Linked DNA regions of Homo sapiens: regions 2, 3, 4, 5 and 6 are each linked to region 1. The links are contacts of gene promoters, found by promoter capture Hi-C in blood cells and fetal thymus (Javierre and others, 2016). All regions are on one chromosome and are shown on one strand. The core of a region is centred on a gene start or on the middle of the fragment in contact, and the rest is flanking DNA. Distances in the headings are between cores, read along the strand shown.

What was found. Contacts are between HindIII fragments. The CHiCAGO score rates a contact against its expected background, and 5 or more counts as called.
Region 2: a contact is called between a fragment that was not itself captured here and the fragment with the promoter of RSPH3 in region 1, in 1 of 17 cell types (neutrophils). The highest score is 5.6, in neutrophils.
Region 3: a contact is called between a fragment that was not itself captured here and the fragment with the promoter of RSPH3 in region 1, in 1 of 17 cell types (total CD8 T cells). The highest score is 5.3, in total CD8 T cells.
Region 4: a contact is called between a fragment that was not itself captured here and the fragment with the promoter of RSPH3 in region 1, in 2 of 17 cell types (naive B cells and total B cells). The highest score is 5.3, in naive B cells.
Region 5: a fragment that was not itself captured here is called in contact with the fragment with the promoter of RSPH3 in region 1 in 12 of 17 cell types (total B cells, naive B cells, megakaryocytes and 9 more); the score reaches 11.8 in total B cells.
Region 6: a contact is called between a fragment that was not itself captured here and the fragment with the promoter of RSPH3 in region 1, in 2 of 17 cell types (naive B cells and total CD8 T cells). The highest score is 5.1, in naive B cells.

The regions. Positions count from the first base shown.
Region 1 is chr6:158,998,476-159,001,936 of GRCh38, forward strand. It overlaps RSPH3 (radial spoke head 3), which reads right to left and starts at 1,727. Exons shown (of 8, transcript NM_031924.8): 1 at 960-1,727. The coding sequence starts at 1,075. TAGAP-AS1 (TAGAP antisense RNA 1) reads left to right here and starts at 1,398. Exons shown (of 5, transcript NR_183546.1): 1 at 1,398-1,917. RefSeq lists enhancers at 470-1,441, 926-1,075, 1,096-1,145, 1,176-1,245, 1,416-1,575 and 2 more. The HindIII fragment of the contact is 7,152 bases long and covers 1-3,000 here.
Region 2 is chr6:158,609,857-158,613,317 of GRCh38, forward strand. All of the region lies in intron 10 of TMEM181 (transmembrane protein 181), which reads left to right. It also overlaps the pseudogene TATDN2P2. Among named protein-coding and RNA genes, the nearest start is that of MIR7161, 1.9 kb to the left of the region's middle. The HindIII fragment of the contact is 2,812 bases long and covers 252-3,063 here.
Region 3 is chr6:158,626,750-158,630,210 of GRCh38, forward strand. It overlaps TMEM181 (transmembrane protein 181), which reads left to right. Exons shown (of 17, transcript NM_001376852.1): 14 at 1,659-1,741; 15 at 2,981-3,070. Among named protein-coding and RNA genes, the nearest start is that of DYNLT1, 16 kb to the right of the region's middle. The HindIII fragment of the contact is 378 bases long and covers 1,569-1,946 here.
Region 4 is chr6:158,660,463-158,663,923 of GRCh38, forward strand. SYTL3 (synaptotagmin like 3) reads left to right here. Exons shown (of 18, transcript NM_001242394.2): 3 at 807-923; 4 at 2,288-2,916. The coding sequence starts at 2,807. Among named protein-coding and RNA genes, the nearest start is that of SYTL3, 12 kb to the left of the region's middle. RefSeq lists a silencer at 1-77. The HindIII fragment of the contact is 4,315 bases long and covers 1-3,461 here.
Region 5 is chr6:158,707,459-158,710,919 of GRCh38, forward strand. SYTL3 (synaptotagmin like 3) reads left to right here. Exons shown (of 18, transcript NM_001242394.2): 8 at 864-933. Among named protein-coding and RNA genes, the nearest start is that of MIR3918, 56 kb to the right of the region's middle. RefSeq lists enhancers at 289-920, 921-1,552. The HindIII fragment of the contact is 2,859 bases long and covers 452-3,310 here.
Region 6 is chr6:158,736,243-158,739,703 of GRCh38, forward strand. The region is part of intron 11 of SYTL3 (synaptotagmin like 3); the gene reads left to right. Among named protein-coding and RNA genes, the nearest start is that of MIR3918, 27 kb to the right of the region's middle. The HindIII fragment of the contact is 1,833 bases long and covers 892-2,724 here.

The sequences.
Region 1 (3,461 bases), core at 477-2,976:
AAAAAAGAAAAAAAAAAAGGCTTATGTTTTGTTTTTTTTCTTTCCTATGTATGTTTGAATATTTGCAACTGTTCATGGATGTAAAAACACAAACTGCCGTCCGGGCGCGGTGGCTCACGCTTGTAATCCCAGCACTTTGGGAGGCCGAGGCGGGCGGATCACTTGAGGCCAAGAGTTTGAGACCAGCCTGGCCAACGTGGCAAAACCCTGTCTCTACTAAAAATACAAAGATTAGCCGGGGGTGGTGGAGGGCGCCTCTAGTCCCAGCTACTTGGGAGGCTGAGGCAGGAGAATCGTTTGATCGGGGAGGAGTGGGGGAGGGGGGCGGAGGTTGCAGTGAGCGGAGATCGCGTCATTGCAGTCCAGCCTGGGCGACAAGAGCGAAACTCCGTCTCAAAACAACAACAGCAACCACCACCACCACCACCACCACCACCACAAAAAACCAATCTGTGGTCCTGCATGGAAGAATAATCTTACTCCTGCTCAAAGCCTGCCGAAGAGATTTACTCGGCTCCCATTTTGGATATGCTACTGTTGGATATCTTTGCACCGCGGTCTCCTCATCTGCATAATGGAGTTATAAAATCAACTTCACAGCACTGTGGATTAACTAAGAAAACGTATTTGAATGCCCCCCGTAAGGTGCTCAGCACGTAGTTGGCCCTCAATACACACTGGTACAATTCAAACTTTGTGAAATGAGCCAATTCGTGTACATGTTAAGGACCACGGCAGCAACTCATATCACTAAAAGTTAACTGATGCCCAACCCATGCCCCTTCCTGCTTCACTCCTCCACACCACGGGAGATTCCTTAGGGCAGAACTTTTATTTCGGCAGAGTGCAGCCAAGGGAAGACAGCATAAGCAGCTTTTTTGCCAGGGCGAAGGGGCCAGACCCCGGCCTGGGGATGGGGTGCAAGTATGGACCACACAGGGGCTGGCTTGGTCACTCACGGCTGCGTCAGGCTGTCCCGGTAACGGCTGCGCTGGCAGGGCAGTGCTCGGGGCCGGCTGGTGTAGGTGTAGGTGCTCGGGGCCCGAGAGGTGCGATCAGTCAGCGCTGAGGCCATGTCCGGGGGCTGACTGCCTCGCTTTCGGTGGAGCTTGGCTTTGAAGCAGGTGGGCGCTAAGGTGTTGTGGGACCCGGAGAGATGTAAGTAGTGCCAAGGGCAAGGATTCCGCGACGCGAGGAGAGGCGACAACAAGGGAGGCGGGCGGGACGGGAGGTTACCAGCGCAGGAGGTGGGAGCTATACTGGGCTCGCTCCCAGCACCACAGAGACCAGCTGCGGGGGCCGCATCGGTTGCCCAGCAACCCAGGGTTCTGTCTGGGGGCGGGAACTCCGGGCAGTTCCGGTCCCCAGGTTTCCCGGGAAGGACTGCGGCACAAGGGACTTCCGGCTCTTGACTCCGCCCAGCCGCGCCACCCAGGTAGGTGCGCCTGCGCTTTGCGAGGTTCCTGGCTAGGGAGGCGGCCTTGGCTGGCTTGACCGTCATCCTTGAGGCCTGCGGGGCAACGGTGGCTGTCCTTGGCCCGGCTTTGGAATGTGGCTTTGCAGGGCTGGTGTTGGCGCCATTCTCGCAGGCCCACGTGCTCCTGCTCTTCCAGGGTGTCCTCGGCTGTTTCTCCTGCCGCGGCGCAGCAGCGCTCCCAGGCTGCCCCCGCGATAACACGCCCCTGGCAGCCAGGCTCCCAGCTCTGTTACGTGCCCGGGCGGGGAAGAGCTTCCTGGTGTCTCCCGGCTCCTGCCCTTCTCCCGCCCCAGGGGCGGGCTGCCGCCGCCCTCTGCAGCTGAGTCAGTGCAGTTCCTCACCTACCTTCTCTGCTCACCGCTGTGTGCTAGCAATCGGAGGACCCTTGGCACACGGAGCGACAGGGGCCTCCCCCACAGACACCTCATTTTGGGAAAGAAGTGAGCAATTTATTGAGTCTTAAAAAATACAAAGGCATAGTTCCCCTTAATCTATCAGGCTTCCAGCTCTAAAGAATGTCTCTAGTATTGCGGGGTGGGGCTGCGCTTAAAAACGCAGACGCTTTGGTTTTAGTACCAGCAACGTTAAAAATCTTCTATCTTGTATGAGTGAATGTGTATCCCTTGTGATCAGTTATTTGCATTTGCAGTTACACCTTCATTCAGCTAATTGCTGTCTTGATTTGAATCCAGGTTCTAGAATGTACTAGCTCCGAAACCTCAGGCAAGTTAAATGTTTTTGTGCTTCATTTTCCTAATCCACAAAGTGGCAATAGAAGAATTTATCTCTTTAGGTTTTGTCTTGAGGATTAAAACCGTTAATACTTAGAGCTGTGCCTGGTAAATGGCAAGCCTTTATATTAAGATCTGGACCGTTCTGTGCTTTGAAGTGTATGACCTAAAGCAGATGTAGGCATTCTATAAGTAACACTAGCATAAAGGTGTATGGTAAATTCTAGAGGTGAAAACACTCCCAACATATTTTAGGTCTGATCATTTAATTTTGAGGTAATTTCTGAAAGGGCTAGAGGAGAAAGTGACATTTAAGTTGTGTTTGATAAATGATAGTATTTTAACTGGCCAGCCTCTTGGGGGAAGTGCATTCGGAATGGCTTGATCAAAGGCTCAAGAAGCCCAAGGTGCATTTGGAAAACTGTAAGCAAGGTTTGTGTAGATGAGTTGTAGAAATATATATAGACAGGCTGACACCACATCGTGGAAACAGTAAACACTAGCATATTAATTAGAATATTTTTTCCCTCAAGTAACAAAAAACCAATTCCAAGTGGCTGAAATAATAAGGAATTCATTATTTTACACTCCCCAGGTTGGTTAACCTGGAGGGTAACTTGGGGGCTCAGCACATTATCAACAACACGTTTTTTCCCCTACCTTTCCACTCTGTCACCTGGGTTGTTGGCTTCAACAAAGTAGTAATAGAAGTATCTGCTCTTTTGTCTTTATTGGAAGAGCAAAACCCCCTCGTAAACTCCCAACTGACCAGAATTACATCATATTGATTTAAGCTTAGGATCTATATAAGACCACCATATTTGGATTAGACCAGGTAACCGGTCTTTCTAGGCCTCCAAGAAACACTTGGCCAGGGAGGAGGAGAACAAATTCTGTTAGGAGGATGTTGGGGCAGAATTGAGTGGGTATTAAGTGGGTAAACAATAGTGCTATACCAGCCACAGTGGGCTTTATAAAGAAATTGATAGCCACTATAGGTTCTTGTACAAGTTTCTTTCTTTTTTTTTTTTTTTAGATGGAGTCTCGCTCTGTGGCCAGGCTGGAGTGCAGTGGCGCGATCTTGGCTCACTGCAACCTCCGCCTCCCCGGTTCAAGTGGTTCTCCTGCCTCAGCCTCCTGAGTAGCTGGGACTACAGGCGTGTGCCACCCCGTCCAGCTAATTTCTGTATTTTTAGTAGAGGCGGGGTTTCACCATGTTGGCCAGGATGGTCTTGTTCTCTTGACCTGGTGAT
Region 2 (3,461 bases), core at 408-2,907, 390 kb before region 1:
AAGTAGGGAGCATCCGTTTCCATGATGATTCTCTCCAGTGGGATCTGCCTCAGCACTTCCCGGGCTTCTCAGGTGGAGGAGTACGTCAGGACTGCCATGAGGCCCACCGACGTTGGGAAAGTACTTCAGCAGGGGTTCCATGGCCAGGTAGCTGCAGTGAAGCAATGCTTGTGTATCTTGTAGTCAGAGAACACACATTTTCTCATGGTGTCCAGCAGATCCTCGTCAGCTTGCTGGCAGAGGATCACCAAAGCTTCTCTAGAGACGCAGCCAGCTCAAGCTGTCTCTTAAATACCTTGTGATGTTCTGGGACAGGCATGGTGCACTTGTAGGAGTAATTGAAGCCTGTTTCTCCAAATGCCACAGTCGTGGGGTGCCTTAAGGCTTGTAAAAGATTTCTTTCCTGACTCTTATTGTAGTAACATGGAAAATGAGGGTGACAGCCAAAGGCCCCCCAGACCAGATTCTCTTTCAACAGCTCCCCCCGTAGGCAATTTGTCAGGGTGAGGGTGGCAGAGGTCAGAGATGCAACCCTGAAATTCCTTAGAGAAGGAGCTGCTGTAAATTCTTCTGAACTTAGTCAAGGTCCCTTTGAAAGACAACTTGGAATACAGCATATCCAAATGACAGTGGGTATCAGTGAAGCCCTGCTCTAGGCTTGGCTCCCAGTGGCTCTTTGGCAGGGAGCTGGATGTGTGTCCTCCACAAGGACACAGAGGCATCTCCTCTTGGAATGTTCTTCTTTGCTTCACCTCTTTTCCTCCCGAGCTTCTGGAGAAGTGAAATGAGTGAGAATTCTGGGAGCTGCCTTCCTCTGAGGCCTCCACATCTCTGGAGACGTTATGGGCGCTCACTGCAGAGTTGGGGGAAGAATCACTCAGGCACTCGGGCTGCTCCTCCCAGCCTGTGCTGCGTCATTGCTGCTGCTGCTCACAGACAGGTAGCCGGCAGGCTTGGGGCTGCTGGTGCACTAGCTGACATACTCACACCAAGGACTACTGTAAAAATGAGGCAGGTACATGACATAGTAGTGAAGGAAGAAGGCTCTGGAATGGCTGAGGGTTTCAGTGGGACGGGTTCCTCCTGAGAGAATCTGACCGTGGAGATCTCCAGATCAGACCAGTTGCTTCCTGAAGAGGGGTGCTCCATCACCACCTCCCTATCTTTATGCTTTCGGATTTCTAAATGAGAGAGTCATCCAGAAACTCGAGGGGTGGAGAGCATTTGTCAGTGACTGTCCTTTGGTCCCCAAGGGGCTCCTCAGTGGGTTTCTCCTGAGGGTCTGTGACTACTCTCCTGTCACAGAAGCTGCTCCTCTCTGGCACTGTCTTGTCCTTCTCCACTGACCTCTGGGATTGACTATCCTTCTCAGCAGGGGTGACTGTGACACTCCTGGCTGTTCCTTCTCAGTCTTGGCTGGTCCTTCACTCCTAGCTGGTCCTTCTCCACAACTGGGACACTCTGCTATGCTTGGTTTTGAACTAGTGACAGCCTCTCCCTTCCTTTTCGGCATTGATTTCCCTGGATGCCCTGGTTAGCCTCCAGGTAGATCATTGTGGAGCCCTGATGTCGAAGTCTATCCGTCTTCCTTTTCTGGACCTTGTTGGGTTCCTCAGTCGTATCATTCTGACTCTCAGCTTCAGTTGCAAATTAAGAGTTCATGGAGTTACGAGAACTATCTTTGGAATCAGCCTTAAAGCTGCAGGCTTCCTTTTCTAGAGAAGCTATTTCTTCTAGAAAGGGATTGGTAGGATGTGGAGGGGTTCCCCCTGACGAAAGGACTCCCTGAGTGCTCTGAATCAGGCAGCCTTTGGTGGCGGCCCCGCCCACACCTGTGCCCGAGGAATGCCGGGGAGGAATGTAAGAGTTAAAGAAAGGAAAGAAACAGGAAAAGCGGCTCAACAGTCAAAGACAGGTTTGTTTTGGACAATAAACCTGAGAGGGCCTTCTGGCCGAGTTAGGTCAGAGTCACTCTCTCTTACAGGCTAAGAGTATTTAAGGGTTCAGGGCAGAAGAGGTTATCACAGGCTTGGAATGTTTCTGTATCTCTTCGCCTTGCTTATCTGGGAGGGGGAGGTTTTGTGTCTGTTCCCATACAACTCCCTGCAGCTGCAGGGATACCCCCCCCACCTCCTAGTCTGCTTTTAGCTTGTCTATCTTAGCGCATTTAAAGGGAAAGGAATGTGCTTATTAGGGCCTACTTTTTTACTGGGGCCCATTTTTGGGGGCCCATTTACACTCCCAAAACATGAGTGTGAAGTTCGGTGGTTACCCAAGAGACTTGGGTGCCCAGCTGTGCCCAGCTGTCTTATCTGTGTTTTACTGTCTACTCTTTCTGGCTGCTTTTTGTTAGAAGTGATTTCCTTGAAACGTAAGAAGTTAGAAAGGGAGCTGGAACTGAAAATGGGGGTGTTTGTCCAAGATGACGGTGCTCCTGCTCTGTCATTCCAGACCCTATAGTTATAAAAGGACCAGGGGCGACGTGTTCTTTCTGGTTACTTCCTGCTGGGTGGGAGAGGTAGAGAGTCCCTTGGTCTCGGATTGACTGCGGGAGCAATGCCGTCTGTAGATGTTTTGGATAGTTGTCTGTGAAATAGCCATGCTCCTGTCAGTTAAGAATCTTTGAAAAAGGTTAATTAGGCAGGGTAAAAACATTAGTCCTAGGCTTATTATTAGGAGAGGGCCCAGGAATGGGATGACCCATGGTATGCTTTTTGTTCCCAAACCAATAATTCATTTGGTTGTTTTGGTATTCGCTTAGCATTTTAGCCCTTTGTTTGAGATTTTTAGCAGCCTCTCTTACGAGACCTGATTGGTTGAGATAGAAGCAACATTTCTTTCCCAATGAGAGGCAGAGGCACATGTTTGGAAAGACCCATGTGTTATTTTTTATTAGTAACTGTTATTCCTGCTGTAAGGATAGTAATTAAGCAAAATGCTACGGTAATTGAGATTGTCTGTCTGATATCCTACCCTCAGGGTGCTGCAGTACATAGTCCTACTGCAAATAGTCCAGTAAAGCAGTTCCCGCAAGGGTGGCATGGTAAATAATTTCCATAAAAAAGCTTTAATATTTGGCTTAAAAGGAGAGGTAGAAATGACAAAAAGTACTTGGTGAGGTAAGAGTGAGACTGAGTCAGATGAGTAATTGTCACTCAGTTAGTTATTTTTTATGATTTTCAACTTAAGATTTCTTATTTCTTTACATTGATATTTAGGACGTTCCTCTGGGCTGTTGGGATTGCTTCCTCAGCTTTTCAGGCTTTGACTTGAGTGTGATGTATGCAGGGGTTGATTCCTGTAACAGATGTAATTTAAACTGTCGAAAACCATAAAAATTGAAAAACATCAGTCAAGACTAGAATTTAACAGGTGTGCTATAGTTTTTGAAACCTAATTTTCTCTCTCCAGTTTACCATTTTTATTAAAAGACAAATCATAATAGGACTGGTTTGCTTTAT
Region 3 (3,461 bases), core at 508-3,007, 370 kb before region 1:
AACCTCACAACCTCACATAGAGGCTCACTCACACCTCACTCATGCCTTCACTCACAACTGACCCACCCTCACACACACACCTTCACACACACCCTCATTTTCACACATCCTCACACCCTCACTCTCACACTCTCACACCCCCACACCTTCACTCACACACCCTCACCCTCATTCTCACCCTCATTCTCACCCTCACCCTCACCCTCACTCACACCCTCTCACACATCATCACTCACACACCCTCACTCTCAGCACACCCTTACAGCCTCTCACTCTCACACATCCTTACACACACCCTCATTCTCACACCCTCACACCTTCACTGACACACCCTCACCCTCACCCTCGTTTTCACCCTCTCTCACACCCTCACACACCCTTGCTCACACACCTTACACCCTCACTGTCACACATCCTCACACACACCCTCACTCTCACACCCTTACACCTTCACTCACACACCCTCACCCTCAAATTACCTAGTCCCCAAGTTGGGAGCTACTGTCTACTTCTGGTGGCCTCCGTCTCGGAAGTTGCCCTGCCATGTGATCTCTCTTCACATAGGTGTTAGGGGACTCATTTATCCTACAAATAGTTACTGAGTGCCTGTCCTGGCAGACAGGCTTCTCTCTGTCACGGGATTTATGTTCACACAGAGAGAGACGAGTGGCAAACAACTAAATACATTCCCCCTGCGTGCCATGCTGCAGACGAAACAAGGAGATGTGACTTGCAGAGGGGAAGGGTCCACTTTAGATGAGTGGTTTGGGGATGTATCTCTTGGAGAGGCGACATTTGGCTGAGGACCTGAGGAGGAGCCCTGAAAGCTGTGGGGTGGCTGCCCCAGGCCGCAGAACAGGGCACCGGCAGCCTGGGTGGGCGTCAGCATGGCGAGGTGGAGAGACAGCTGCGTCGCTGGAGGCCAGCGTGGCTGGAGATGAGCAGGCGTGGGCACGGCAGGAGGCAGAGCGAGCTCTTGAGTCCAGTTTCCATTCTGTGCTGGGAGACCGCCAGAGGGTCTTGAGCTGGGAGGTGAAAGGGTCTGGTGCACATGTTAAGCCTTCTGGCTGAGGGTGGCATGTGGGAGGTGAGGTGGAAGGCAGGTGGGGGAGGAGCCTGTGGACCTGTGTCCCGAGGCCTCTGTTGTCATCTGTCACCGGCTGGGAGTCTGAACCAAAGATGTTGCCTTCGCTGCTGTGCAAAGTCACTGGAACTGACCGGGGAGGCGTCCCTGTGTCTGAAAGGGGAGCTGTGACGAAGGAGAAGCAGGCTTCCCTCGGGAGAGGGGCTCTGTCACAGGAGATGGTCTCGAAAACCTGAGTTACAAAAGCAAGAGCAGGGAGGAAATGTGCCAAGGAGGCTTCAAGGCCCCGAGTAGGGAGAGTGTGATGGGGCCTGCAGCAGGGTTCATCCTGTCCCTGCAGCCGGCCGGTGGGTCTAGCCCACCTAGATCCGAGACCAAAAACCAGAAGCAGGGGCTGTGTGTGTGTGTGCATGTGTGCATCTGTGCGTGCATCTGTGCATGTGTGTGGAAGTTCCCATGCAGAAATCATAGTGTACAGACGGAAAGCTTGAATGGGGTGAATAGAGAATTCTCTGAAGCTAGTGCCGTTTTCGTGCATGTTTACATATTGTCTCTGCTCCTCTGTCTTGTTCAGCATCGCCATCCTTTATTTGAGATTTGGGGCGCAAGTACTACAAGACAATTTTGTAGCAGAGCTGTCAACTCACTACCAGAATTATATCCTTTTCACTGGAGGGCCCTGGCTGCAGGACGCCTGCTTAGCATTGCAGCAGTTAGTGGCTCAGATTTGCCCCTCTCAAGAGGAGACAGGTCAGCTCCTCGCGCCCTGTTCTCCGGAGGCCTCGTCTCTGCTGAGAGGTGTCTCAGTTGGCCCCGCTGCAGCCGTGGGAAGGGGCAGCCTGTCCCTCCTCTGTACACAGGAAGCTTGGCTCAGTAGTTGCCCCAGGTCAGGTTTCGGGTGGCAGAGCCCGGCTCCAAACCCAGAGAGGCTGGCGCTCTGGAGCGTGCCCACGCCACGCTGCTTTCCACCCAGAGGGGCAGGTGCTGTGAGGTAAATGAGGTGCGGTTGCCTCTCCACACCGCGGGGCTCCAAGCCCCTACTGCCCTCCAGCAGAGCACTGTGGGGTGGCTGAGGGCTGCCGTGAGCCTCCTGTCTCCCCCCGGGATATCTCTCTCATCATCACGGAGATGTATCCAAGGGTATGACAGTTGTGGCAGGTTGAGCCTGTGTCTGTAGGGAAGAGCTCAGAAAATACTGGGACCCCCTTCGATTCCCGCTGTGCCTGAGGCCAGTGGCGCAGGGCTGTTGCCTCCCGGGAGCCCTGGCCTCGCCCAGAAGTCGGAGAGGTTAGGTATGTGCTTTCCACTCTTTGTTGGGGACACTTCAAGAGTTAATCCTTTAGATCCTGGGTTCTTTCTTTGGGATTTCTTATGTCCCAGTTAATGCATGAATTAATATACGATTTTTTCAAAGTTTTGTGACTGAATTTCACACTAAGCTTTTATCTGATTTTCATAGGGGTCTGTAATCCAGAAATGTTCAGAGCAATTGGTTTGAGAGTTTGTTTCCAATTCTTTATTTCATTATTGTGTCTAGAGACCTTGATTCACCGTATGCCCGTGGCCTTCCTGCCCTTTTCATGTAACTTGATCTCTTCTGGCCCTGCCCTCGGTGCTGGTGACAGGAGCGCCACCAGATGGCTCAGTGGGTCCAGGTTTCCACTGATGTGAGAGGCCATAGTTCACCTGTTATTTACTGTGACCTCGAAGAGTGCTTGTGACCCCTGGCTGTGGGCTTGAACTGTGGAGTCCTGACGTCTGGGTAATGGACCCCCGGGCACTGGCGGGTGCTTGGCACTAGAAGGGGCTGCTGATGGCGGGAGGAGTGGTCGGGCTGTAGGCAGAGCCTCTGACTGATGTGTCCAGATGCCGCGTTCCTTCCCTTGACAGCACCACCAGCCGAGTTCTTATCTTTCTATGGCCTGTTGAACTTCTATCTCTACACCTTGGCCTTTGTATATTCTCCATCGAAGAATGCCCTCTATGGTAAGCCACCCTGGGGTCTGGACTGCTGGCCAGTTAGCGGGCACAGAGGCCTGTGTTCATCCACGACCCACTTCCCGGGTTTCCCATTCATGTGGGCGCTGTGATTCCCAGTGACTTCTCTTGGCAGAGAGAGAGTGAGTTGAAATGTCGAGCTCTGAGGTGAGTTGGGGCCCAGCATATGTAGAACCTGCGTTGTGTCATTCCCACAGAGTTGACACACTCATTTTATTAGTGTCAGTCCCCAGCTTTTGCTGTTCAGTTTGGGATTTTTTGACTTTACAATGATGCAAAAGCAATGCACATTCAGGAGAAATCACACTTTGAATACCCAAACAACCATTCTGTTTTTCACTTTCAGTACAGCATTCAGCAAATTCATGAGAGAGTCACC
Region 4 (3,461 bases), core at 343-2,842, 340 kb before region 1:
TTGCACCTGGGGCCCACAGGCGGGGGTTTGGGAAAGTAAGTGTAGTGCTTTGTAATGATCATTGAACCCTGTATTTCTGAAGTGCGTTAAGACCTAATAGCCACCTGTATGAGCGAGCGGTTGAGTATTTCAGATTCCCCCACCAGATTCACTGAGTGGTGTCATTACCAGCCAATACTGCAGCTATGTGGTCCTGCTTACCTGGAGTACTGGAGACCAGAGCCAGAGAACGGAGCACAAACAGCCACATGAAAAGAAAGCACAGTGCACAGAGCAAGTGTTTGCAGCCAGGTGCAAAAACTCTTCACTAAAAACACTCGAGAGCCAGGTGCAGTGGCTTACACCTGTAAACCTAGCACTTTGGGAGGCTGAGACAGGAGGACTGCTTGAGCCCAGACCAGCCTGCGCAACATGGTGAAACCCATCTCTACAAAATTAAAACATTAGCTAGGCATGGTAGCCCGCACCTGTAGTCCCAGCTACTCGGGAGGCGGAGGCTAAAGGATTGCTTGAGCCTGGGAGGCCAAGGCTGCAGTGAGCCATGATGGTGCCACTGCACTCCAGCCTGGGTGACAGAATGAGGTCCTGTCTCAAAATAAATAAATGAAAACTCAAGAATTAGACAAACCAGATGGCTCTGGACCCAGTAGTACGATTAGTAGAGTGGAAATAAGAAGACAGCATGAAGAACTGAGGGGCAAGTTGAGAAGAATGGGCTCGTGCAGTTGGTGACTTGATGGCTAATTTGCACCTTGCCACTTGGCACTTGGTCACACACAGTTTTCTATTACTTTCCTCTTTTCCAGAGACTCAGAGCCTTGGGGCACTGAGGGATGCCAGTTCTGCCTGTTCATCTGGAACCTGGATCTAAGGAGGGAAGAGGCGTTGCCCCTGCTGGCATAGTCAGGTACCAGCCCAGCCAGGTAAGAACCTAAAGTCCTTGTTGCTTTGTGATTTTCCCTTCATCTAGAGAGGAGGCCTTTGGAGAACAGGTCTTGTGGGTGCTTTGTCAGAGACTAGAAGCCGAGAACATCCCTTTTCAGAGCTCTGGGTTTTCTGTTCCTCATGCAACCTCTGCAGTTGGGATGAATAATATATTTTAATTTTATTTTACAATAGGGAAACTGACAAATATTGAATTCCTGAACTGAGCAATCTTGGCCTGTAGGCCCATGAACTTGGAGAAAAAATTAAATCTTTATTTTTATTAACCTTTAACTCAAATTTAGCATTTTCTTAAAATATGGATATAGGCAAGAAACCACAGTAGAATCAGCAGAACTTGTGACTTTGTCACCAACAGAAATCACAGATATTTTCATACCACATGATATGTTGTAGCTATCTCAAGACATTGTTTCTATTCATCACTACTTTGAAATTCTGGGAGTCCTTAGATCACTGCTAGATCTTAATATTTCATGCATCAAGGAACACATATATTACTATATTACAATTTTTAAATATTTCAGTATAATCAATTTCTTCCTATGTAACACAGCATACCTTATTTTATGCGTTTAAATACGTAGGCTTCACCAGACTACCAAAGATTAAGAAAAAGGTTAAGAACCTTTGCTTAAAGGAAATGCTACCTTAGAGCTCTGTTAGCCTCTCATTCACTAATTTGCCATGGATCATAAATTAATATAATGCAGATTTTTTTTGAAGCCTAGCAAAGGAAGTTTAGCTTTTAAAGCATTGAAAGGACGTCTTATCACTAAGGGATTCCCATAGATTTAATAACAAAAATGGTACTATAGGAAGTATATTGATTTGATCTTCTGCATTTTCTGGATAAAAGGATGTATGCAGAACCTTTCAGCTGTCATTAAACAAAAACAAGAGCTAATGCATAAGGCAGCTCATGAAACTTATTCAAGACTGTAAATAATTGATAGGCTGAGCTTGTGGTGGTGCTGCTTCATACATCCTTAATTGATTAAACATTTTTTGAGTGTTGAAGTTAATGGTAAAAATAATAGCCAACAGTTGGGAATGTCATTTTTCCAGTATTTCTTCAATTAGGGTAATGTACATTAAACACAGACTTTTACGTCCTCTGACCACTAAAGTTATGGAATCCATATTAGGAAAATTCAAGTTTGGAAGTTTGAGGCTTTTAGAAATATGAGAAGTGTTATTTAAGCAAATTTAAAATTTTACATTATCACCGCGAGCAGAAAATGCAAGGGTTTGTGTAGAATATTTTGTCTTTTTGGAAGTAATGCTGCAGAGATACTTAAGCCAAGAAAAATGTTGCCATTTTTTGTTTTCTTTTCTGCAGGTATTGAACGGGCTGAGCTTTTCATGATGGTTCCTGCTGACCTGGAAACATCTTAAATGGAAGGTTAGCTTCTATGAGTCACTGATACTCTTTTTATTGCTATTTCTAAATTTCCTTGGCTTGAAAATTACTTCTGCTTTGCAGAAATTATCTGCTTGCAGCTGTGGATAATTTATAACAATCTCTGGTGAAACCTCAGAAAAGAGATATGCTTTTGTCTTAGATGGATGTCAGCAGCTGCTGCAGAACCCGGTGAAAACACCCCCCGGGTAGCACGAGGCTCTGCGAGCCGTAACTCCGACAAACGCAGAACTTCTTGAGGCTTTCTTCTTCTAAGGAGTATGACACAGTTAAAAAGGAAAAAAGAACCACAAGCAAAACAGTTGCCAGTGAAATAGGAGAGGGAGCTCTTTAAACAAGGCTGGCTGCAGCTGGCCTCCGCCGCTCATCTGCAGGGCGTGAGCGCTTGGTCCATGCAGTGAAGCTCTTCCAACCTGGGTCAACGAAAACGGAGAAGAAATGGCCCAAGAAATAGATCTGAGTGCTCTCAAGGAGTTAGAACGCGAGGCCATTCTCCAGGTCCTGTACCGAGACCAGGCGGTTCAAAACACAGAGGAGGAGAGGACACGGTAGGCTGCCCTTCCCGGGGGGTCACTTTGGGTGTTTAGCTTTCTCTGCTTGGGGCCTGCCACTCCGTCGCCAATGCTGTTTGCTTACAAATCACTACCCACCTGCTGCTGGGCTTCGTGCCTGAGAAGGGTCCTAACGAAGGTCTGTTGGTGGAGATGATCCTCCTTATGTAACTAAACGTAGAGGACGCTCAGGAGGAGGAGGGAGGCCGCTCTTGTTATTCATTTAAAACGGTGCCTTTGGGCGGTAAGTTTGCTGTCTGCCATCTGCTTGTCTGTTTGCCGACTTCGTGGGAATCATTCAAGGGACATTTTCAGGCTTCCAGTTTACCCCTTCTTTAAGGAAAGACCTCCAGTTAAGGGTTTTCCTACCTCATTTTTGACGGTGCCGGGAGGTGTAAAGAAAAGCAAAGAAAGAGGCTCACAAGCAGCAACTCTGATGGAATCCAGCCCTGTCTTTTTTTCTTTGCTCGCTTTTGCTTCCCAGCTGGCTTTGAGGAAGGGGGAGCATAAAATATGAACCTGCTTAGCCTGTTTCCTGACCG
Region 5 (3,461 bases), core at 631-3,130, 290 kb before region 1:
CAGATTCTCATGAGAAACCTTCTAGTTAGCATAGTATTTTCTCACTAGACATTCAGCTCTACTTCTTAAATTCTCCTGAAGTGTTATAAGGAAACTAAATATTATGTTTAATTGCGCTTAAGTGAAATTCTAAAGCAAGCATGTGCTTTGATTAATCATGCCTATCTCTAACACCCTACCCAGCGCCTGGCGCGTTAGAGATACTGGTGAAATAAACATTGATAGAATTGAATAATGGCCTGAGAGATGTGAACTTCTTTGCACAAAATTCTAAAAACTGAGCAGTCATGAAGCTGGCCATAATTCACACACCTGATTACACTCAATTTATTAAAGTGTTTCTGAAAGCTCCCCACCAGCTGCTATTTTGTTTGGCCCATGGTGAAATTTTCCAATATCGAGACTTTTTCATTTTTTTCCTCCCCTGTTCTTTCCCATTTCTTTTAGCACAAGCTTCCAGTTTGCTTCGTGGTTGATTCTCACATCCACAACATTTTTGGCGCTTCTGCTGGTGTGGTTTGTGCTAAGAGAACACGGGAGCGCAGATGGGAACCAGGGGTTTCCCCGCAGCCAGGTGGCAGGTCCAGGCCGGAGCACCCAGGCTGTTTCAGAACACATGACTGAGTGGGGCGGAGTACCCAGACTTTAGGCAGCATCGCCCTCATATAGATACCAGGAAATCATGCCCCTCGTAGAGCAGCAGGTCCAAGCAGGGCTGCTGGCTATTTTTCCAAAAAGTGAGGCAGTTTAAAAAAAAGGCGGAGAACTAGAATTATAGAATAATGGCACATTTTGTGTATTTGTAAAACTAACGGCTTGCATGGTTCACAACCCATTTCTTATGCCTGTGTTTTCCTTGGCAGCAAAATTTCTGTGGTTCCTCCTACTCCACCTCCTGTCAGCGAGAGCCAGTGCAGCCGCAGTCCTGGCAGGGTAACGTATCCATTCTGGGCACTTCTCTAGTAGGGGTCAGGGGATAGAAGGAGAGGAAGCAGGGGAGCTTTCGAGGCTGAGGCCGGGCACGGAACCTCCCAGCAAAGGGATCTGACTGTGCCTGGAGCGGGTCACAAAGCGGGGTGGGGAGCGAGGGCCCTCAGGCTGGGCAGAGCTTCTCTCCTCATTCTGGTCGCGGGACCCTCTGTGTCATCAGCGACCCTTTCTGCCTGCACCCGAGGTCTCTTTACTCTTGGCATGGCATCGGCCCCCTTCCCCAACTCTGCTCTGTGCTGGGCGTGTGTGTAGAGTCTCTGGGGTCTAAGGGGAAATAAGATTGGTTAACGTGTGTGTGAGTGGGAGTGTCTCTTTTGAGTGTTTGCAGGCTCTGATGTACAGTGGACCAGCACCATTTCTGTCCAAAGAAATTAGCTGTGTGATCTTGGGGCAGTTACCTGGGTTTCCCACCTGAGAGGTGGAAATAATTATACAGGTGCTGCTTGACTTATGATGAGGTTATGTCCCAATACGCCCAAAGTAAATTGAAAATACTGTAAGTCAAAAATATATTTAGCTAGGCGCGGTGGCTCACGCCAGCACTTTGGGAGGCCGAGGTGGGTCACTTGAGGATAGGAGTTCGAGACCAGCCTGGCCAACATGGTGAAACCCTGTCTCTACTAAAAATACAAAAATTAGCTGGTCATGGTGGCAGGCACCTGTAGTCCCAGCTACTCTGGAGGCTGAGGCAGGAGAATTGCTTGAGCCTTGGAGGTGGAGGTTGCAGTGAGCCAAGTGCCACTGCCCTCCAGCCTGGGCAACAGAGCAAGACTCCATCTCAAAAAAAATAAATTGTATTTAATACACACCTAACCTACCAAACATCATAGCATAGCCTAGCCTGCCTTAAAAGTGCTCCGAACACTTGCGTTAGCCTACAGTTGGGCAGAATCATTTAATGCAGAGCCTATTTTATAATAATAAAAATGTTATTAATAATACAAAATAGAAAAGATCAAAATGCAAAGTACGGTTTCTACTGAATATATATTGCTTTCACACCATCATCAAGTCAGAAAATTGTAAGTCAAACCATCGTAAGTCAGGGAGTGTCTATATTTGTATATATCGTCTATATTTGTATGGCTGTTGTGAGAAATTAACAAAATAATGTCTGTGTTGGTACTTGGAAAACCGTAAAGTGCCATGGAAATATATTGTCTTGGTTATCTTCATTATTCTATAAATTAAAGGGGGCAGGTATATATGGGAGAATATGGGAGCTGATCATAATCCCAGAAGACATAGTCCTGAGTGCTATCATCCTGAATGTTGGAATCCTGAAAGATCAAAATCCCAAAAATATAATTCTAGAAAATCTAAAAATGATTTTGAAGAAATTTATTTAAAAAATTTAAAGGGGATTTGAGAAACATGTAAAAACATGACAACAGCCTGGGCAACATAGCAAGACCCTATCTACAAAAAATAAAAAAATTAGCTGGATGTGGTAGCACATGCCTGTAGGCTCAGCTACTCAGGAGGCTGAGGGAAGAGGATCCCTTGAGCCCAGGAGGCCAAGGCTACAGTGAGCCATGATTGCGCCAATGCGTTCCAGCCTGGGCAACAGAGCGCGACTGTCTCTAAACAAACAAACTAAAAACAAAAACCATGACAGAACACTTAACTGGCCACTTTACACAATAAATAGGCAAAAACAGCATGCATATTTTTGCAAGCATAAACACTCAGATATACTAATGACAGTCACATGGGTATAACAATTATGAACAGATGAACCATATTCATAAAGAAATACATCAGAAAGGGAAGTGTAGAAATACACATTACTATGGCTGGTATTGTGTGCATCCAGCTTTGTAACTGAAATATTGTCATGAACAGCAGTATTTTTCAAACAGTCATTTGATGAGATGGATCAAAAACCGCCATGGGTCACCATTGCATATACAGTCACCCAAACAGCTGAGATCTCAAGAAATTTTATCTTTTGCAAATACAGATGTACAAAAAGGAGATCTCTTCCCTTAGGAAATATCAACATCTTTATGTACATGTCAGAGTCATGGTGTGATGACGTACTTTGAAGCATGGAGTCAGTTTTCAAAAAAAAAAAAATGCATAACACAAATTAAAACTCTAAAAGTGTCTGTAATTTTTACCTCCAGCATGGGACATGATGAGAACGTGAACTACACAGCATAGCAAACTGTGCTGTGTGTGAAGGGGCAGAATTCATACACAACTAAACTAAATAATTTGGCAGCGGAGATTTCTTGTATTTTTTTTGCCTGTGTTTTTACTTCTAAGATCTTTGAAACACTTGCTGCACTTGTATTTGGAGAGTGGTTGTGGTCTAAGCTTTTTTTTTTTTTGCTTTTTTCTTTTTTTGAGATGGAGTTTCACTCTTGTCCAGGCTGGAGTGCAATGGCGCAATCTTGGCCCATCACACCCTCCACCTCCCGGGTTCAAGCGATTCTCCTGCCTCAACCTCCTGAGTAGCTGGGATT
Region 6 (3,461 bases), core at 558-3,057, 260 kb before region 1:
CGGGAGGCTGAGGCAGGAGAATGGCATGAACCCGGGAGGCAGAGTTTGCAGTGAGCCAGGATCACGCCACTGCACTCCAGCCTGGGCGACAAAGCGAGACTCCTGTCTCAAAAAAAGAAAAACTGTCAACAACCAAAATGTCAAGAGAAAGTTAAATTATGGAGAATGTGCACACAGTATTATTCTAACTGTATAAATTTCAAAATCAGGTAAAACTAAACAGTAGATTGTTTGGGGGATATATTCATGTATAATAAAACCATTGGCTGGATGCAGTAGCTTATGCCTGTAATCCCAGCACTTTGGGAGGCCAAGGCGGGCGGATCACCTGAGGTCAGGAGTTTGAGACCAGCCTGACCAACATGGTGAAACCCCATTCTACTGAAAATACAAACATTAGCCAGGCATGGTGGCAGGTGCCTGTAATCCCACCTACTTGGGAGGCTGAGGCAGGAGAAATGCTTGAACCTGGGAAGTAGAGGTGGCAGTGAGCTGAGATCGTGCCATTGTACTCCAGCCTGGGCGACAAGAGCGAGACTCTGTCTCAAAAAAAAAAAAAAAAAAGTAGAAAAAGTAAAACCATCAAGAAAATCAAGGATGATTAACAGACAGTTTGAAATAGTGTTTCCTGGAGACAGGAATGAGAGGGGATTTGATAAGGGAGGAGGAGTTCTGGGGCACTTCTGAAGTCCTGGCGATGTTATTTTTCTTAAGCTGAGAGTGGGCATGTGGATGTTAATTTTATAATTGTTTAATCCTATATGTTATATGTACTCTTTTGTTATACATTTCATGGCAAAAAAAAAAAAAACAACGAAAAATCAAATGATTTGCTTAGCTTACAAAGGTCATCCACATTTTGTGGCATTTTTAAAAGGCTGATAATCACTAAGCTTACCATGCATAGGCATGGTTCTAAGTCTTTTTCCGTGTGTTAACTAATTGAACTTCACCATGACCCTATGAAATAGATCCCCATTTTACAGATGAGGAAGCTGAGGCTCTGGAGGGTAAGATAATTGGTCAAGATCACACAGCCACTAAGTGTCAGGGCCAGGCACTGGAAGGCTGCTGTGTGGCCTCATCACTCACCATCTTAACCACTTTGCAAAAATGTTCTCAGTGTGTTCTTATCAGGATTTATTATTTTTAATTTAGCTGTGGCTTCAGTTGACTCTGAGTTTTCTGCCCTTGTGAAATAAAAGGGCATGAAACTTAGCTTGCAGTTACAGGAGATACATTTGTGACCTTCAGAGAAAGTCACTGGCAGAAGGCTCCCTGCCTGCCTTGAGTTTTTCCTTTGCCGTTACCCAGATTGACTTTCTTTCAAACCCAGACTGTGCCAATGGCTTTAATAAAAGTCAGGCTGAGTTTTGGGTTGCGCTTCTGGGCCAGAATCTTTTGGTTGACTCCATTTGCTGCATTCAACTTGTAACCTGCTCAAAGGCTCTGTTCTGGCTCCAGAGAGAGCAGAACCAGGAGCCCTGCCAGGGCGATGGTGGTGGAGCCATGAGTCGCCTGGGAAGGAACGCATTTGATGGATGGACGTGCTCTGCTCTCCTTTCATTATGAGGGTGTATCCTCCCCGTCCCTGCTCAGCAGACACAGCGGTTGAACTACTCAGAGACATGAGCATACATTATGGCCCAGAGATTTAGGAGCCCTGGTCCACTTTCAGGTCTGCTTCTGATGTGTGATGCAATTTGGGGCATGACTCAACCTGCCTTGACCTTCGTTTATCTACTTATAAAATGATGAGTAATGACAATGCTTCCTGGATGCTTTATAATTCTGGGTGCCAACCTGGACAAGCGCAGCTGTGCCCTTTCTTTCTACCTGCACACCAACAGCTGCACACCCAAGGAGCAAAGTGCATGGCAGGGCAGCCCTAACCCCAGGACACTCACGCCTGCATGCTGGAGATTAGGTCTGCCCTGTTGTGTTCCCAGGTCCACTGTGCCCAGCACTGCCCAGCAATCCTGATGTCTTTGCCTGATTAACACAGTTTTTTTGCTCTCCACAACAAACATTTCACACCTCCTCCAGTCTTTTCAAACCTGCTCTTCCTCCTCACTCTCAAATCTCCCTTTTTACTCTACCAAGAAAGAAAAGAATCAGTTTGAAATTTCCCAATCCTCCTGATAGCAAAATTAACCAACCGCATTTGCACCCAAGTGACTCTTCTTTCCCCACCCGCAATAGAAGAAGCTGATGCCTGCAGCAATACTTGGGATCCTGCCCTCCCCTGCCTTCTCTGTTCCTTATTCTATTACTTGTCCTTCCTCTCTCTTACGCATTCAGCCTCTACTTACCTGGACCCTGAAACACATTCAAGTCTCCTGTAATAAAACACCTTCACTAAACCTTCCATTCCCCTCCAGCTACCACTTTTCTCTCCCCACCTCAGCTAATCTTTTTATTTTGTTTTGTTTTGAGATAGAGTCTCGCTCAGCTGCCCAGGCTGGAGTACAGTGGTGCTATCTCAGCTCACTGCAACCTCCACCTCCTGGGTTCAAGTGATTCTCCCACCTCAGCCTACCAAGTAGCTGAGATGACAGGTGTGTGCCACCGTGCCCAGCTAATTTTTGTATTTTTAGTGGAGACAGGGTTTCGCCATGTTGGCCAGGCTGGTCTTGAACTCTTGACCTCTAGCGATCCACCTGCCTTGGCCTCCCAAAGTGCTGGGATTACAGGCGTGAGCCACTGCACCTAGCCCCTCAGCTAAGCTTTTATTAGTTGTCTGCACTTGGCATTCCCACCTTTCCCCTCCCACTCACACAGCCCTCCCTGTCTGGCTCCCTGCAAAAGAAGGCGCCGTCTCTTCCTGCCCTTCTGTACATTCATATTTCAGCTGTGTCTCATCTAAATAGCACAGTCAGATGTTTTTAAAAATCCAGTCATTGACTTTTTTTGTAGTATGTAACCTGTTCTAGTTTATTGTAACTACTTTTTTCTCCTGTGTTACTGTCTCTACCACCTTCTTTTCATCATTCTTTTTGGATTAAACAAGTCTGGCTTCTATCATTTCTGGTGGGCAGTAAAATGGTTAAATCTTACTGTTGATTCCATCATAGGTAACAGATCCTTTTTTTCTCTACCATTAAGATTTTCTCTTTGTCTTTGATTTTAAGCAATGTTATTATGATGTACCTATGTATAGTTTTTTTAAAAAATATTTTCCTCTTAAATCTGTGGTTTATTGTCTCTTGTTAGTCTTTAGAAATTCTTAACCATTATCTCTTCAAATATAGCTTCTGCCCGATTTTTCTCTATATGAGAGTCCAAACATATACTTTTTCATTATGTCCTGTATGTCTCTCTCCCTCTATCTCTCTCTCTCTGTCTCTTTCTCTCCCTCTCCCATCTTTCTGAGATGGGGGTCTCATTCTGTTGCCCAGGCTGGAATGCAGTGGCACAGCCCTAGCTCACTGCATCCCAGAACTCTTGGGCTTAGCAGGAGC